2 separate regions of the Homo sapiens genome follow, and region 2 is linked to region 1. Evidence: promoter capture Hi-C in 16 types of primary human blood cells and fetal thymus (Javierre and others, 2016). All regions are on one chromosome and are shown on one strand. The core of a region is centred on a gene start or on the middle of the fragment in contact, and the rest is flanking DNA. Distances in the headings are between cores, read along the strand shown. Region 1 holds the start of ZSWIM6 (zinc finger SWIM-type containing 6). Region 2 holds the start of PDE4D-AS1 (PDE4D antisense RNA 1).

The links. The method cuts DNA at HindIII sites, captures the fragments that hold promoters and counts their contacts. A CHiCAGO score of 5 or more calls a contact.
Region 2: the fragment with the promoter of PDE4D-AS1 here is called in contact with the fragment with the promoter of ZSWIM6 in region 1 in 3 of 17 cell types (fetal thymus, total CD4 T cells and naive CD4 T cells); the score reaches 8.5 in fetal thymus.

Annotation. Positions count from the first base shown.
Region 1 is chr5:61,330,180-61,333,840 of GRCh38, forward strand. It overlaps ZSWIM6 (zinc finger SWIM-type containing 6), which reads left to right and starts at 2,079. Exons shown (of 14, transcript NM_020928.2): 1 at 2,079-2,769. The coding sequence starts at 2,094. LOC105378994 (a long non-coding RNA gene) reads right to left here and starts at 2,037. Exons shown (of 2, transcript XR_007058781.1): 1 at 1,961-2,037. RefSeq lists an enhancer at 169-739 and silencers at 544-1,123, 1,154-1,223, 1,434-1,833, 1,944-2,083, 2,864-2,973 and 1 more. The HindIII fragment of the contact is 10,173 bases long and covers 1-3,661 here.
Region 2 is chr5:59,038,185-59,041,777 of GRCh38, forward strand. PDE4D-AS1 (PDE4D antisense RNA 1) reads left to right here and starts at 1,582. Exons shown (of 2, transcript NR_198970.1): 1 at 1,582-1,886. PDE4D (phosphodiesterase 4D) reads right to left here. Exons shown (of 15, transcript NM_001104631.2): 6 at 675-787. RefSeq lists a silencer at 951-1,020. The HindIII fragment of the contact is 4,461 bases long and covers 1-2,957 here.

The sequences.
Region 1 (3,661 bases), core at 829-3,328:
ACACAATTATAAGATTATTCTTATTTTTAAAGAGATCTAGAAATGAAACCCCTGAAAGAGACTTCTCCCTCTACTTGCCCATAAAGATCCTCCAGTTTTCCGCACAGGCTTTTTCCTAGACATGGAGGAAGTGCCCAGAAAAATACTGGACGGATATACAAAAACATAATGCCACAAAAATTTTCCTAACAAGTAAGGCAGCTGCGGAAAGTCGGCCAGCGTCCCGACCCCAGGGACCTGCAGCCTGGGACTTGTGAAGGCCCACTGTGTAGCTCGAGGTTTCCAGGGCCTCGGCCCCGAATGGGCGATTTTCTTTAAAACGCCGAAGCGCGCTATCCCTTTAAATCCAGGCTGCAAGGCAGGCGGGTGGGGAGCAGCCAATAACCTTAAAAGATGCGAAAGTGTCAAAGGAGATACAGTTTATCTCCAACAATGGGAGCGGATCAGCACCACTGTTTACAGTAAAAACAGAAGGTGGGGCTGGGAGGAAGCCTGTCTCCGACGCGGTAATTAAGTCTGCGGCTTGGAAGCAGATTTGACCGAGCTCTGTGGAGCGCGAACAATGTCCGCAGGGCTCCAGGTTCAGAGAGGGACTCGCTTCTCCGCCTTCGCCCGCGTCCAGGCACCAGCGAGCTGCACTCTGCACTCGCTCTCCCTGGTCCACCCCTACACTGCCCGGACCCGAGGGGACTGGCCCTGCGGGCGCCGCCAAGGCGACTGAGAGCGCGGCGCGCGTCCCGAGCGCCTGGACTCCGCGCAGCCGGGCGCCGCGCACCCGGGTGCCGGGGTGGGAGCCGGGCCGCAGACCCAAGTGCGCCCGAAGCCGCCGTCCGCCGCCTGGCACGCCGTCTGCCGCCTGCTGGGCGATGTGTGCGCGAGCCCGTGGGGCTTGCGCGCGCCCTGCGGCGTGTGTACTCACAAAGGTGTGTCTGCTAACCCCACAGCCCGGGCTGCGTTCCACCCCGAGCTGGAGAAACCCCGGCCTGGAGCGGGGCCTTGTCCGCGCGGCCGCGGGGGCGACAAGGGCGGCCGGAGCTCCTCGACTTCTAGCGGGCGGGTCGGTTTCCTGGCCCGAGGGGCTGAGGCAGCGAGGGCGGGACGGTGGCAGCCGGCACCGGACGCGGGTCGCGCGGCTGCTGGGCACGTTCCGAGCGCTCTGCGTGTTTTCGGGCACAGCCCTGCAGCCGAGACAGAACGGACGCGGGGCTCGGGGATGGGCGCACTGCAGCCACGCGGGGTTAGCAGAGCGGGCGCGCTCCTTCCACACCAGGTCTGCAAAAGTGAAGTGGAAAGCCGCCGCCGAACGCAGCCATCCTCCCCCTTCCCCGCTGCAGCTTCGGCGGGTGGTGGGGAGAGCTCCCCTGGACCGGCTGGAGGGGAAGCTGGCAGGCGCTCGGGTTTGGCCGCGCCTCCTCCGCCTTCCTCTCCACCCGCGTCCCCCGGGGTCCATGCCGCATTTCTTTGTTTTGAAAGCGCCTCCTCCGCCCAGAGGCTTTTCCCCCGAAGGGCAGGGGGACGGGGGGGGTGGGGCATCGGCCCGTGGGCCCCGCCCTCCATTTAGCTCAGAACCCTCCCCTTCGCTCACCCCCTCTTCTCCCCTTTCCTCCCCCGCTGCGACCCACGAGGCGCATCCTCACTTCTCGGACTTCAAAGAGAAGCTGAGAACTGGAGGGGGAAGTGGGGTAGGCAGGGGGCGCAGAGACCCACCCACCTCAGGCCCGGCCCGGCGGCCCGCCCCCTCCCACGGGAACCCCGCCTGACCCCGCCCTCCCCCGCGTCACAGCAGCCTGACATTCTCACAACCCACCGGGCACCAAAACGGCCCGCCCCCGCCACCCCCGTGTCCGCCAAGCGCTCTATTTATGTTTCAGCCCAGCGATTTGCATAGGCCCCGCCCCCGGCCCTAGGTTCCCCCTATCAGAGCCCCGCCCCAGCTTCTGCGTCACAGCGGAGGCCCCACCTCTTGTGCCCATACAAGGAGCGGCGGGCCCTAGATGGCATCGTGGCGTCGCGACGGCGTGTGCGTGTCGCGCTTCCTAGTGCCGTTTATAGGGTCCCGGCACTTCCGCTGTCGGGTTAGAAGCGGCGCGGTCATGGCGGAGCGCGGACAGCAGCCTCCTCCCGCGAAACGGCTTTGCTGCCGGCCGGGCGGCGGCGGCGGCGGCGGGGGCAGCAGCGGCGGCGGCGGCGGCGCGGGTGGCGGCTACAGCTCTGCCTGTCGGCCAGGCCCGCGGGCGGGTGGCGCGGCGGCGGCGGCGGCGTGCGGGGGCGGCGCGGCGCTGGGGTTGCTGCCGCCGGGCAAGACCCAGAGCCCCGAGTCGCTGCTGGACATCGCGGCGCGCAGGGTGGCGGAGAAGTGGCCGTTCCAGCGCGTGGAGGAGCGCTTTGAGCGCATCCCGGAGCCGGTGCAGCGCCGCATAGTCTATTGGTCCTTCCCCCGCAGCGAGCGGGAGATCTGCATGTACTCGTCCTTCAACACCGGCGGCGGCGCCGCGGGCGGCCCCGGCGACGACAGCGGTGGCGGCGGCGGCGCGGGCGGCGGCGGCGGCGGCGGCTCCTCGTCTTCCCCGGCCGCAACCTCGGCGGCCGCAACCTCGGCCGCCGCCGCCGCTGCCGCCGCCGCCGCCGCCGCCGCCGCCGCCGCGGGGGCCGGGGCCCCGTCGGTGGGGGCTGCCGGGGCGGCGGACGGCGGCGACGAGACGCGGCTGCCTTTCCGCCGGGGCATCGCGCTGTTGGAAAGCGGCTGCGTAGACAACGTCCTGCAAGTCGGTGAGTCACGGGGCAGCCGCGAGCCGTCTGTCCGTCCGTCAGTCCCTGGGTGGGGGGGGGGTGCCCGCCTTTCTCCTGCGGACAGCCCCTAGTTCCGCGCGCGCCCGCACCCCTGCGGGTGTCCTCACTGGCCCGGACGGTCCTCCTGAGCGGAGCGCCCATTTCCTCCCTCCCTTCCCTGCCCCCCGTCGCCCCGGACGGGCCAGCGCGAGTGGGAAATGAATCAGCAGGACGCGCCCCTCCGTGGGCTCCGCGCCCCCGGCCCGCGCTCCCCTACCCGCCCTCCTCCGGGGAGCACATCCTGGAGGGCTGTTCGCCGGTTTCGGGGGTGGATGTGGACAAAGGCGCGGGCGGACGGCCGGCCTCCGGCGAGGGTGTGTGTGGCGGGGCTGTGCGGGGCGGGGGAGGGGGCGCGGGCCGCAGACAATGCCGGCCGCGGCCCGGCCGCTCGGCGCTCCCCCCCTCTCCCACTGCCTGTCGCTCGCTCCTTTTTCTTTCTGGCCCCCGCCCCACGCGATTTGAGGGGAGGGGAATACACTTAAAGCCGCTCGGCCGCCGCTCCTCCCAGGGCTCCGACGGGCGAGCGGCCGCGGCGCTCCCGGGTCGCTGTGGCGTCTGGCCCGGGCGAGCTCCACTGGCCGCCCGGGGTTTAAATGTCGTTTTCTTTGCGCCTCCTCAGTCTCCAAGCGGCGCAGAGGAGAGGTGGCGGCGGACCGGACTCCGTCTCCGGAGGGACATCTCGCCCGTAGGACGCTTACTAATTAAAGGGCGCGAGCCTGAGGAGGAGCTGCTAGCGCTTCCCTTTTCTCTGAAGCTGCCTCCAGACACCCCTGTGCGGGCCGCGGCGCAGCCCTTGTGCCCCGCCGCCCGAGTTTTGTTTGCGCTGTGTGGT
Region 2 (3,593 bases), core at 332-2,831, 2.3 Mb before region 1:
TCAGCCCTCAAAACTCCATTAACTGCCAAGACCAGCACCTTAGCACATATGGCACAGATGCCTAGTTGAAGCCTCCTTGTACTAAATGACCTCAAAAAACTGGGCTTTCTTTCCAAGATTAATGGAAACAAAAGTAATGATCATAAGGAACCTTCTAACTCTGTTAATGTTTCCTGCGGATATGTATGGCCAACTGAATATATAAAGGCTCAGTTCTTGCGGGGTACCCTGACAACTAGATGAATTAGGGTGAAGGTTCCAAGTTCGATGAACTCTTCTGAGTTTGAGTGCCCTAGGTGGTGACATTCAAGTGATTTCACAGACATCCACCAATTCTTATTTTCAACCGGGAATCCCAAGAACACCTTTAAACATGCAATGCCCATGGACCCTACTGGGTTTCTGCTGCAAGGGCTCAGTGTTACTTAGGAACCCTGTGTCTTGGGAGATACTTAAATTTAGCACGTCAAATTGCTTTTGGAAAATGTTTATCTGGCGTGACTAGGGGAGGCAAAGCAAGGAAACAGGAACCTCCCTCTAAGGAGCAGAATAGCCAACATGCAGTAAGCCTAAAAAACCTCTCAATTTATTTCCCGGGGCTATGGGTACCAGTGGCTCGCCGGCATGGGAATCAGCAGCCTGGGGGCACCAGTGACAGCAGAACCGGGGCTTACCTTGTTGGAGGCCATCTCACTGACGGAGTGCCTGGTCTGTAGGGTCTCTAGCTGGTCCAGACACCAGTCCAGCTCCTCCAGGGTCTCGCTGGCCAGTTTCTGGTAGGCCTCCTCTGCGAAGAGACAGGGAAAGGGGGACTCAGTTCTCAAGCGCTTCACGGGTCCGCTAGCGAGTTCAAAGGGGGCCATCCTGCCATACCCCGCCATGCTCGGATGCCCGGTGCCGGCACATGAGGGCTGCTCCTTCATATTGCCCAGCCCGGCAGTGCAACGGGGGCGGAGGCTGTGCTCGCGGGGCGGCCGGCCTCGGGGAGGCACGGTCTCTCCAGCTTGGCGTCTCGGGTCGGCCTCCAGGGAGGGCGTGCAAAGAGCGGCGAGCCAACTTTCACACAGCGACGCGAGCGGAAAAACCACTATGCGACTTTTCAACTGTGCGGCGGGCCCGAGTCCCAGTCCAGGAGCCCGGCTCTAGCGGATGGCGAGGGGGTGGCGAGCGCGCTTGGGTGCCCGCCCCGCAGAGGAGCGTCTGGTCCACAGCCGGATCTCCTCGGTCCCCAACCCGGAGCCGCGGCCCCACGCCCGCCCCGCCTGCCGAGCCTTCTGCACGGCACTTGAAGTGAATGAATCAGCCGCGGCCGGGTGCGCGGCCACCACGTTTCCTGTTTTCTTTCTCAACTCCTCGGGCGGCAGGCGCAGCGCGGCTCCAACGCCGCAGCTTTCCGGGAACACTCCCCCTCACGCCCCTCTCGGCCCTCGGCGCTGCCTGGCTCCTCCTCAACCCCCTTACGAAAAGATTCCGAATTGCAAAAGCCTGTCCCTGTCCGTGCCACCCGCCGCGTCCTTCCCCTCGAGCTCTGCCCCGGGGGCCCCGCCACCTCGCAGTGCCATCCCCCCGGCGCAGCCGGGCGCCACTCGCTTTGAAGTGCAGACGAGGAGGCGCGGGCGCGAGCGTGTGTGTCTGTGGGGCTGCTGTGGGACTGTCTGTGCTAGGAGAGCGGCGGAAAACCCGGCGTGGAGCGCCTGCAGTCCGCCGTCCGGGGTCGCGCCCGCCGCGGGGCTCAGGAGGGACCGGCACGCAGGCGCGCACGGCCGCGCACCTGTCTCGCTAGAACCCCGCGCGCCCCGCCGAGCCACTGCCCTCCAGGTTGCCCAGACCGCTGGAGCCTCTGCGACTCCACGACCGGCTGCTTCCTGCGAAGTTTCACAAACAAGGTTATTTAGGACCCTCAAGGTTTCTGAGGGTTTAAGTTTTAGGGTTTCTGGGGGTTCGTTTCTAAAGGCTTAGGATTCACCTACTTCAAGGAGGCAGGGTTGTGGGAATTAAGACCGCATTCTTTTTCTACCCAGCCCAGTCCCTACTAAGTACCAGACTTCTAAATGTTGGGGCGGACAGAAACAAGCAAACAAAATATACAATGTTGTGGGGTCGGAACGCTTTATAATTCACAAATTTGACAATAGGCTGCATTTTCATATGCCGAATTGCCTAAGAGTTCTCTTAAAGGAACAGCAATGTGAAAGAACCACATGGTAAGGAGAATTTACGCATGTCCTGCATACTACTCCTTTCCCCTGTGAATTGCATAAGACCTAGATGATCTTGGGCCAAGGAAGAAAATCTGGAAGGGTGTTTCTACCCACCATGTGCAGAGTACACTACAATTTTGAGAAAACGGAAAGACCATATTCAAAGGCATACAGAAAAGCCTGTTCTGTTTACAAAGGCTGACCCAGGGCACCAGGGACACTGTCCCTAAGCAGATCAGTTGTGGGAGAACTTTTCTACATTAGCATGCAATAAGCAAACCATTCATAGTGAGGAGAAGTCAAACTCCCAAGGGTCCATTTGATAAAACTTTGTCATTGTCGAGTGGAAAGAAGATACTGAGAAACTTACACTAAGTGGTGGGATCCCTTGTCTTTGTCTTTGAATCTACAGGTATTGGAGAAGAAATTCTGCCCTTGAAATTTAGACTCCATAAATTAACATGGCACAACAAATAAAGTTCATGGACTGAATTTAGGCTCCTGGGATTTTTGAGATAGCTTTTTATGTGAACTTTGTAAAAGTTAGAGTAACTTTTAAAGTAGTTGTTACATGTGCCACGTGGCTTATTGTTATCAAGAATACTTGAACTATTTACTGTTCACTTTGAGTACTCTAGGTTAAAATTTGCCTCTTTTTTGTTCTACTTCCTCCACCCCGCAGTCTATGTAAATATATACTTTAGATGGACAAACAACTGCCTAAACCTTGCCAGGTGAATTAAAGTTTCAGATTGAAGCTTTTTTTTCCCCCTTAACAAGCTTAAAGATATTAATAATTTTAAATGGTAAATATAAAATACCTGCTCTGTATAGCTTCCCCAATTCTAAGAATGTAAAAAATATTACATGCTTGTTATAAAAATTGAAGCATTACACACAAATATAGGAAGTCCATTGTAACCCCACACCCTAAAGATCACAAACAATACTTTCGCCTATGGCTCTAACACAATCATTTTCATTTTACTGAATAACTTCCATATGCAAGTATAGCATCACCTAGTTGCCATGGTAGTGCATCTACTATATGGTTTGGTTTTGATATTTTCCTCTCTCTCTCATTCCCATAATATAGGAATGTAGGAAATTTTAAGAGGACATTGACTTGTTTTATGATCATTTGAGCTGTCCATAGTTAGCCTATCCAGTGGATTAAAGATGCATAACCATTGTGTCTGGGATTTGTTCAGTGCCATCTTTTCAATCATTGGTTACAATGAAGCTGGGAGTCCCCTCTGAGGTTCGGCTTTCTGTGGCTCCTCTCCCCTGCACTCCAACTTTCTCAAAGCCTGAGCCTCAAGTGATTTCCCAGTAGCTAAGTAAACTGCCCCCTTCCTCCATCTTCACCAAGTTCCCAAAGCTGTTCAGACT